Linked DNA regions of Homo sapiens: region 2 is linked to region 1. The links are contacts of gene promoters, found by promoter capture Hi-C in human tissues and cell types (Jung and others, 2019). All regions are on one chromosome and are shown on one strand. Each heading gives the region's core, a stretch centred on a gene start or on the middle of the fragment in contact. The rest is flanking DNA. Distances are from core to core; before and after follow the strand shown.

Region 1 (5,416 bases), core at 1,386-3,885:
CTGGGACTACAGGTGTGTGCCACCATGCCTGGCTAATTTTCTAATTTTATTTTTGTAGAGACAGGATCTTGATATGCTGCCCAGGCTGGTCTTGAATTCCTAGGCTCAAGCGATTTCCCACCTCAGCCTCTTAAAGTGCTAGGGAGCCACCGTGCTCGGCCAGACGAATTTTTTAAAGGAACTCAACACACTCTAAAATTCATTTGGAAGAATATAGGTCTGTCAGATAAAACAGCATTTTACAAAGATGTTGTATTTACAATATTATGTTATTGGTGTAAAACAGATGTACAGATACAGCATAGGGAGTTCAGCAGTGAATCCTCATTTTTGGGAATTTGATCATTTAGTAGATGAGTTGGGGAAACTGAGTCATATGGAGAGAAGCGAAGCTGAATCTCTGCCTTACATACACAGGCATACATAAAGATAGCCTCCAGAGATGGGTTAAAATCTTAAATGTGAAAGGTAAAACTATAAAGCTATTAGAAAAAAACAAAGTAGAATATGTCTGAGGTAGGAGCAAGGTCTTAAGACTTTCCAAACACAAACTATAAAACAAAATATTGATGAATTTGAAAATATTCCTGTTCAGTGAAGGACCTACAAAGTTAACAGATGACAGTTTGGGAGAAATATTCACAATGCATAAATCTGACAAAGGGCTAATGTCAAGAATTAAGTAATGTCTCTTCAAGTCAAAGAGGATTAAAAAAACCCAGAAAAGCAAATTTAAAAATGGATAAAAGGTAAGAACAGGGAATTCAAAGAAGTCAAAATGGGGCTGGGCACAGTGGCTTACACTTGTAATGCCAGCACTTTGGGAGGCCGAGGTGGGTAGATCACTTGAGGTCAGGGGTTCGAGACCGCCTGGCCAACATGATGAAACCCCATCGCCACTAAATATACAAAAATTAGCCGGGCATGGTGGCATGCACCTGTAATCTCAGCTACTCAGGAGGCTGAGGCAGGAGAATTGCTTGAACCTGGGAGGTGGACGTTGCAGTGAGCCAAGATCATGCCACTGCACTGCAGCCTGGGTGACACAGTGAGACTCTGTCTCCAAGAAAAAAAGTCAAAATGGTTAACAAAAGTATAAGATGCTCAAACTTCCCACTCACCAGATAAAGTCAAGCTAAAACAAGTAGTTATCACTCAACTACACATCAAACTGGCAAAAAAAAAAAAGTAGAAAAATAGTGTCATAGATCAAATTGTGCCCTCTCCTCCCCCAGTGCGACTGTCTTTGGAGATAGGGCCTTTAAAGAGCTAATTAAGGTTAAACGAGGTCATTAGGGTATGGCCCTAAACTGATGGGATTGGTGTCCTTATAAGAAGAAACAGATCTCTTTCTCTGCATGCACAGAGAAAAGGCTGTATGGAGACATCGAGAAGGTGTCCGTCTGCAAGCCAGCAAGACAGGCCTCACCAGAAACCAACCCTATTTGCATCTTGATCTTGGACTTCCAGCCTCCAGAACTGTGAGAAAATGAATGTGTGTTGTTTAATTCCCAGTCTGTGGTGTCTTGTGAGGACAGCCCTAGCTGACTGATACAGCTCAGTACTCGGCAGTGCTGGGGAACATGGGGAGACAGGTATGCTCATTTCTTACTGGAGCACGTGTAGACCACACAGCCATTCTAGAGAGGATTCTGGCAGTTTTGGTTAAATTGAGTTCACCTCTACCCCAGGACCCAACCACTCTCCTTCTGGGTTTATCCCAGGGAAATTCTCCCACAGGCTGTAACAGGGACACTTGCAAGGAGGTTCATCTCAGTGTAGTTTATAATCATGGAGAGTTAGAGACAACCTGCATGTCCATCCAGAGGGGAGCAGCCAAATAAACTGAGGTGGATGAATCTTATGGCTCTTTCTGCACCAGCTGAAGCAACATAGATGTCAACAGCATAGTGCTGAGTGAAACCCAACACTATACAATTTATGTAAATTAAAGTACAATACAATTTATGTAAATTAAAGTACTGTACATACAAGGACACAGGCATATTTAAGTACATCCATTAAACACGCTGCAATGCCTGCCAAGGCAGTAGGGATATGGGGTGAGAATAAGTCATAAAGGGGGAAAATAAGAAAATAAAACAAAAGGGGGACCTTGCAGTGATTTGTGCCAATGAGGATGTGCTAGAAATTGGCATATGATCAACACAACCTCAATTTTCTGTACTTGAGGTCTAAGAAAAAGAGAAGAGGGAAAGTGACTAACCTGAAGTCACCCAGCGGGTTAGCAGTGGAGCCCAGATGGCACCTTCCCACCTCCCCAGCCCCGTAGGCAGCAGGCAGAGCCCGGGGCTTAGCTTACTTCTTGCCAGGGTGGATTTGTTGTCTCTGTGGGCTTGGGCCAGGCCAGGCCAAGGCTGCTTGTGTGGTGCCAAGGGCAAGGCCAGCAACCCGAGGAAGATGAGGAGCCTCCAGAGTGGACACATCATAGGGTCTGGGACCTGCAGATGTCAAGAGTGTCAGATGGGGCCTGGGCAGACGGCTTTGAGGGTGGCAGTCTGGAGGGATGGTCTAATGGTTTTCTGCAGAAAGATGACATCAGAATTAGCCCCCAGCATGCTGTGGGGAGGGGCTGCACTGGACCCTGGCGCTGCCACCAGGGCTTGCTCACATTGGGAGAGCAACATGTGGAACCCTGGGAGGAGGCCAGGGCTCCAGAGGGAGGCCTTGTTGCTTGGAGACACTCACCAGAGTCTATTGTTGGGTCATCCAACAGGAGTCCTCTCCCAGACCCTGGCACAGGCTGGATGTTAGTGACTCTTTAGTGAACCAATGAATGAATACATTTGAGTGAGGATGGCTAACCCCAGGCTCTCCAATTGGGTTAGGACTTTCTTAAGGGCATGACCAACCACTTCAATCCCTACCACGATACTTGCTTGTCAGAAATTGAGTGTTAATGAATGTTTGTTGAGTGACCAAACGACTGAATTGATGAGTGGAGATGGTTGATCTCTGAATCTCCTCTGAATTATGAGTTTCTTGAGGGCAGGGTATGAGTCTAATTAATCCTCATGTCTACAGTGCCTCCCATGTTTGCCACATGGTAAGTACTGGTGAATGTTTGTTAATGCTACAAATGAATGAATAACTGGATGGATGGATCTTATCTTTCTGGATAAGAATTACAGACTCTTGAAGCCAAAGCATCAGGTTGACCTTGGAGCCCTGGGGTTGGGATTCAGAGAGAATTCAGTTTAAGTCCCCTGTCCTCACTCTTAGGAAATGGTGCCAAGTCCATCTAGTTGTTCTACTCCCAGCCGGTGGAGCTGCCCTTTCCTCCCCTTTTCCCATCTCCCACAACCCATCTGTCAGGAGATCCTGCTGACACTTCCAGAACATGACCACATATAACAACTACTCCTCAGCCACCATCAGCTTGATCTGAATTATTGCCAGTGGGTCCCGGCTGGTTTCCCAGCTTTTAACTGTGCCCACCCACAATCTCTTCCACACAGCAGCCTGAACAGTCATTTTAAGATGTAAGGTAGGCCGGGTGCGGTGGCTCATGCCTGTAATCCCAGCACTTTGGGAGGCCGAAGCAGGCGTATCATGAGGTCAGGAGTTCAAGACCAGCCTGGCCAACATGGTGAAACCCCGTCTCTACTAAAAATACAAAAAATTAGCTGGGTGTGGTGGCACATGCCTGTAGTCCCAGCTACTTGTGAGGCTGAGGCAGCAGAATCACTTGAACCCAGGAGGCAGAGGTTGCAGTGAGCTGAGATCACACTACACTGCACTCTAGCCTGGCAACAGAGCAAGACTCCAACTCAAAAAAAAAAAAAAAAAAAGATGTAAGGTAGACCACCATGCCACTCCTCTGCTCAAAACCCTCCAGCATTTCCTACTGCACACAGAGCAAAAGCCACATTCCATGCAACACCTCCCAGGCCCAGGAGGGTCCCTGCATCCTCTTGGACCGCACTGCCTGCAGCTCTCTCTTCCCCACTCCACTGCAGCAGCACAGGTCTCGGATGTCTGGGCCCCACCTTGCCATTGCTGTGAGCTCTGAGACAAAGGCGTTTGTCACTGTCCCTGTGCTGTTTCCCCATACTACGGGCGACATAGAGGGTCCCATGTGGATGAGGGATGGGAACGTCCTTTGCAAATTTCACAGAAGCCTTGGGGCTATTCTTGGGCAATTCACTCTGGTTTTGTAAGAGATTGTACTGAGAAAGCCTTGGTTCAGGGTGTTGGCTTTCCCTGTTTGAGGTCCTTTCTCAGAGTTCATGCTCCCCTTGGGGATGTTTGTAGAATATCACTTACTTCAAAATGTATTTTTCTAGCCTTCCTGGTCTTATGTAAGTGGTTGGAATTTTGTTATTTATTGTCAAGAAAACAGAGAAGAGTGGGCATTGTCGGGAGGAACAAATCTGTTGTCCTTGGCTCTTTGGACATCTTAACATGGGGCAGGAGCTGTTGGTCCTACCTCATCACAGGCTGTGGTTCTCAGGGCCACAGAGCCTAATGAAAGGACAGCATGGAGGGTATAGATTTTCAGAGCTTGATGCATGACAAGAGAGAGCAGATTTGGAGGGATGAGAGGGCCCTGCTCAGGGGCTGGGGACTGGATTTGAAGCCAACTCGGTGCAGGATCACATGCAGTCCAGAGTATGTGCTTTAGGGTCACGCAGACCGGGGTTCAACTGCTGACTCTGTCTCTTGGCAGACTCAGCTCCCAGGTCTGTAAAAGGATCACAGTGCAGACCTCAGAGCTATAGTGAGGATTAAAGCGAATCATGCTTGGGCCAGTCCTCCAAAACCATGTTATTATGATGATCCTCCTCCTTGTCCTTACGCCTCTGAGCCTTCCTCACCTGTAAACCAGGGAAGCTGATGGAGTCAGTGACATGGAGCATGAGAATCCCAAGATGGTTCCTGGGACACGTGTGCAATGAATGCAGGAGCCACCTCTATCAAGTACTTTCACGAATGAAATGCAACTCCAGAAGGCAGGCAGGAATGATAGAGAGGCTGAGATGGCAGTGAGGGTGTGATGGTCCTGGAGTGAGCTTGCGCGTGGCTGTTCAGATGGTGGGCTTTGCTGTCATTCATTCAATGAATAAAACCACTAAAATCAATGAACACTGAGTGTCAGGAGCCGTGGGCTCTGGGGATCCCACAGAGAGTGGTCAGGCAGGGTCCTTGTCCTCATGGAGCTCACATACCAGTGGGGAGACACACAGTCTTCAATTATCCCTGCAACTGAGCATATGATTATGAAATATGGCCCAGAGGTGAAGGAGGTGGGAGGTACTGTGAGAGGGCACAGGGAGGGGATACCTGGCCAATGGGGGAAAAGGGATGTCAGGAAAAAGACCTCCCTGAGGAGGTGGAGTTTCTTTAGCTGACATTCAAGGAAAAAACCCAGGGTGGCTGGGCACGCCACGCTGGT
Region 2 (5,416 bases), core at 762-3,261, 140 kb after region 1:
ATGGATAGATGGATAGATGGATAGATGGATGGATGGATAGATGGATGGATGGATGGATGGGAGAATGGGTGGGTGGGTGGATAGAATAATGGATGGGTAGAAAGTTGGATGGGAGGGTGGATGAATGGTTGAATAGGAGGCTAAATGGGAGGGTGAGTGGATGGATGGATGGGAGGCTGGATGGGAGGGGGGATGGATGGATGGATGGATGGATGGATGGATGGATGGATGGATGGGAGGCTGGCTGGCTGGCTGGTCGGCTGAATGAATGAGTTGTGGATAAATCTTCAGATGAGCTCCAAGTCTCCCCTACCTATTGCCTAGCCTCAAATCCTCTGAGCCAGTTATCAAAACTTGGTTGGCACTTCTTCACTCAGGCCATCTGTAAGTGCCAACTTGGGGATATTTTTCACCAAAGGTGCCCATCGTAAGCAGTGGGGAGAAGCCCAGGACCTAGAGGCAGGACCCCTAGTCTCTCATCCCAACTCTGCCGCTGTGTGGACCAGGGCCAGCCAAGCCCTGCTCTGGCTTCAGTCTCCCCATCTGCACCAAGAGCGTTTGGCACAGCTCTGTTCTGAGCTGTGTCCATGTCTGATGTGCAGCCAATAGGGACCCCCCCACACCACAGGGCAAGAACAAGTCTCACTCATCCTTGCTTCCTGGGGTGCTAGTGCCTTTGTTTCCTGGAAAGCTCCTATTCTCCCTTCAAAATTCAGCTCAGATGTCACTTCTGATAAGCATCCCAAAGTCAGAAACAGAGAAAAATGCAGACTCAGAGAGAGAGAGAGTGAAAAGTAGAAGTATTTAGAGAAAGAGAGAGAGAGAGAGCTGGAGGCAAGGGGGGCAGGGACAGAGAGGAAGGCAGAACAGGACACAGAGGCTGCCCAGGCCAACAAGGTCAGTTTGGGACTCAAAGCTACAATGACAAGGCCCTGAGTCCCCTCACCTCCCAGAAGCTCCTACCTGGAGCTAAGGAGGGCACTGGAGGCAAAGGCCAAGTCAAGTCCTACGTGACTGGGGAATAAACCAGCCAGGAGATACCGAGATACAGGAGTCATTTATTGAAAGCTCAGGGTTTGCTACTGAGGCCCCAGAGCTCTCTCTGAGGCAGTTCTATGATTAGCCAGGCAGTTCCCACCCCAAACTTGGAGTAGTGCTTCAGGGCCAGAGGGCATTTTTACTGTCACCAACATCAGCTAGAGACTGGGAGGGAAATTGAGGCAGAGTAGACAGGTGGTCTCTAGTAGTCAACAGGGAAGGCTGGTGGCCATGTCTCAGCCTCAGGATGCCACGGTCAGCACAACAGCATTCTGTAAGGAACAACCGCTCTTGGTTACACCCCTGAGTCTCTGCAATGCCCCATCCCTGCAGCCATCTTTACTCCCCTGCCCTGGGATTGGCCCTGTACCTGGAACACAGCAGGCACTCATTAAATGAATAAATGAATGATGAAAAAATGACATCCAGTGTGGGACAGGCTCTGACTTGAGGACTTAATAGACTCAAGTTCAACTGCCATTTCTGCTATTAATTTACTGGTGAACTTGGGCCAGAAATCTGACCTACTTCAGCCTTGGTCCTCATCTGAGAAATGGGTACAGAACTCTCTGCTCTGCCCACCTCCTAGAGCTATTCCACCACCCAAAGTTGGGCTGGTTTGAAAAGGATTGTGAGGCCATATCAATATTCCACAAGAAAAAGGGTCATGATCCATTGGTCATATCTGCTGCAGACACAAGATAAGGGAGAGATGGCATATGTATTTGTTGCTGTTGGACCAGGGGAACTGTGATTCTGTGAGTGAATCTTAGGTTCCATTCTAGAGGCCAGACATGTCTCTGAATCCAATGGGAAAGAACTCCGTGATTGATTGATGATGTCTGCCATGGGCAAGAAATGGAGGAGTAGTAGCACACATGTCATATATTTGCCATTCCTAAGTTAGGCAATTTGTAACTCACTGAGAAATTTAGAAAATGGATCAGGGACAGACAAGAGGATGAAGCAAAGCATTCCCCTCATTAGTTTCAAGCAGAGCTTTCCAGAGACAAGCTTAAGGCCCACCTGGGCCGTATCTGCAGAGAAGGCTCACCTCTACGATCTCCAGAACTGAATTGGAAAAATTGATATTAAGAACCTTAGGCAGGGGAATTCCAACATCCAGGGCCACTGTGAAAAGAGAATCGTTGAAAACAAAGGTACATTGGTGGGGAGCTCTTGGACCCTAGGAACCCTCGGACCCTGCTGACCCTATTCCATCACTTTCACTAGCCAGCCAGTTCTCTTCTCACAGAATCAGCTTCTTATTGGCAAACTCCTACTCATCCTCCTACACCCAAACAAAAATGTCCCTATTCTGTATTGTGTCAGTGGTGCCCCCGTGTCAAGCCTCCTAAAGGCTTCATCAATCCCTTACACACTCTGGGTCATCTATATTCTAATCATTTGTTTATATGATTATTTCCTACTAGACTGTGGGAGCTTAAGGCAGGACTGAGGTCAGATCAGCGCTTGAAGTCCATAGGCTGGCAAGATGTAGGTGCTAATCAATGTCATTTAAATGGAAAAATTGGTGCCTCAGTTTCTGCATCTTGCAAATGAGGATCGACCTCTCTCTCTGGCCTCAGTGTCCCCATCAGAACCATAAAGAGAGGCAACAGACTAGACAATACCAAATTCAGACACTCCATGTGTCCAAGAGAGCAAAACCTGCCATACCGTTAAGCTTTGGTGCATACACTGCCCCGACCACATGGCTGAGCCATTCTTCTAAACGCGATCCCTGCAACAGAACACACAGGGTGGTGGGGGTGGTGCTCTGGGGTGTGGCTTTACAGGCAGCAGCATCCCGTTCCCAGGGAGAGAAACCCAGGGGCCCAGCTGCCTCAGCCTCCCCCAAGCCTGAGGACACAGCTCCTGGCAGGCACTGGGCACTTGGGGGTGGCCTGGGCTGTCCACCAGTGACCTCGAAAGAGATTCTGTGATTTAGGCTGGCTTTACCCCAGGCCCCATGAGCTTGGAAGAAGTGCCTTCCTATAAGACTCTGTTGGGGCTGGAGGTGGGCAGTGCCTAAGAAAGAGGGAAGGAAATGTGCCCAGCTCCAGTCTATGGGGTCTGACCTTAGATTCCTGTCAGTTTAGGGACTCTGAGAATGTTCTAGAACCTGAGCCCATGGTGAGATTCCAGAACCTCAGAACTCTGTAAGAAGCAGGAACCTCGGGGCTCTGTGAGCTCTGAAATGGAACTTGCTGAGTTCGGGAAATTTATTACTTGGGAGAAGTTCCAGAATGATGGACCCTTGTGAGGTTCTAGATGTCCACAACTTTGTGAGGTTCCAAGACCGTGGAAGATCATGAGATTCACTTTCCTAAGATGATCACTGTTTCTCTCTCTCTCTCCCCACTGCCCACACCCCCTGCTCTCTCTCACGCACACCCGCCCTGATATTTGCCCACTCTGGCTTAATTGGGGAGGATCCCAGTCCTGAGGTCAGCTCAGTCATATGGCCCATGACTCATGGCCACCCCCTTTCCATGCCACACCTGAAGACTCTCATCACTGCCAAGCCCCTCACCCTCCCAGGAACTTACGTCAAAGGCATGGGTAAAGGAGGAGGCCACCTTGACACTGAGCCTGGTGGAGAGAAGAGAGATGCTGGGGCCCCCGCTACCCCCAACCACCCCTGTCCCACCCCCAGCCTGCCCCACCATAGCTCTCATCATCAGGAAACAGGATTACCAGCCCAACACTCTGCCTCTATCCAGCCTTGACTCAGAGACTCAGTTTTCCTACCTGTAAAATGGACCCAAAGGGACCTAACCTCCCTTCTGAGGCATCATGACCACCACCTCTGGCCTTGGCGCCTTTGTCTGACTCCCAGCTATTTGACCCTGGGCAGGTGGCTGAACCATTCAGAGGAGTGACCTCCCCCAGACTGAGCACTGGACACAGAGTGCCTTGCATACAGCAGGTGCTCACTCAAGGCAGCAACTCACTGATGGATCATATCTGGCCCAAGTGCAGATTCAGGGCCAGAGCCTGGGCACGCATCTCTACCTCCTAAAAGACTGAGGCGTGAACTGCCATCAGGAAGTGGAGGTGCACCCAGGCAGCAGGCGAGGCCCTCCATCAAAGTCGGCAATGGGGCAACAATGGAAGGCAGAGGCCAGCAGTGGCCTGAGGAGCCTGTGGGGGTGCTAAGACGGAGTCAGAGGAGCACTGGGTGCCTGTGGCGTAGGACGTCAGGTCTCAGCAATCTCCAGGAAAGTCCCTACTGCCAGGGGAGGGACAGACAGGCCGGGGCCCTGCCATGGTGACAGCACTGAGGCCCAGACTGCAGACCTGCTCTAGGGACGGCCTGCCGTGTGAGCCTGGGCCAGCACGGCGTTTTGCAAACTGTAAAGTACTGTGCATGTAGATGGTGCTTTGCAAACTGTAAAGTACTGTGCGTGTAGATGAAGGACTGTCACCAACACCATCATTCTGGTCATTATGATTATCTTGATGGACGCCTAGTTACCACAGGGGTGAGGAGAATAGAGAAGTAACAAGTAACAAGTCCACATAAATAACAACACATTTCCTGACACTCAAGGCCGGTTGTCTCTTGGTTAGCCTCTGGGGCTGATAACTCAGGAGTTTGGACTCCACATCCTGGCGGCAGGTTTATCTTTCAGAGGCAGGTTTTCAGCAGCAAAAGGGTGCCGTGGAAGAAGCCCACTCTTGAGCCTGCTGCTCTGAGCCCCCGATTCCTTGTCTATAACATGGACTAACACTGTCTCCTCCCTGGCGGGTCCTGAAGGCAAGGAGGATGCTGGAAAAACACCTGGAATTGCGCTGATGCTCAAGAAACGGGAGGCGGATCCTGTCAGCCCCTAATTCTTGTTCCTAAAGACAAGAACAAGATCCTGTCCCCAGGATCCCAAGTTACCGTTCCAGGGACAGGGAGATGTGCAGCTTGGTAGCCGAGGGAGCCAGCTGGGCACGCACAGTCATGACCTGCATGGGCAAAGCAGGCAGAAGTCACCCCCAATCGGCAGAAGGAGCTTGAGGACGGGTCTGCCTCCATCCATCTGTTCCGTCCACTAACCCTTACTGAGGCCCTACTGTGTGTCAGGGTCTGTGCTGAGCCCTGAGAAGGTAATTTGAAGGTTTTGCTGTTTTCTTGAACAGCAGAGAACCACAGTATTAAAATTGAGGGCAATTGGTAATGTAGGAGAGGAAGCTCTGGGGCTGCAGGAGCTTGGAGAGCCCCTCAAGCATGCCTGCTGTACGGTGAGGGAAGGCCTTTCCAGTGAGGTAACAGTTGAATCTTGAAAGATGAGGAGTTAGTGGAAGGAAGGGGAAAATGGTACTCCAGGTGGTGGACCTAGCACAGACAAGCCAGGGAGGGAGGACCTGGTAGACCTGAGTAGCT

What was found. Contacts are between HindIII fragments. The study calls those that stand out against the background at their distance.
Region 2: a contact is called between a fragment that was not itself captured here and the fragment with the promoter of BPIFA3 in region 1, in 2 of the 25 tissues and cell types used here (IMR-90 fibroblasts and lymphoblastoid cells).

The regions. Positions count from the first base shown.
Region 1 is chr20:33,214,571-33,219,986 of GRCh38, reverse strand. BPIFA3 (BPI fold containing family A member 3) reads right to left here and starts at 2,635. Exons shown (of 7, transcript NM_178466.5): 1 at 2,324-2,635. The coding sequence starts at 2,450. The HindIII fragment of the contact is 14,641 bases long and covers 1-5,416 here.
Region 2 is chr20:33,069,470-33,074,885 of GRCh38, reverse strand. It overlaps BPIFB3 (BPI fold containing family B member 3), which reads right to left. Exons shown (of 16, transcript NM_001376932.3): 12 at 4,931-4,998; 13 at 3,591-3,633; 14 at 2,719-2,782; 15 at 2,093-2,169; 16 at 1,039-1,310. The coding sequence ends at 1,281. Among named protein-coding and RNA genes, the nearest start is that of BPIFB4, 7.5 kb to the left of the region's middle. The HindIII fragment of the contact is 5,429 bases long and covers 1-4,725 here.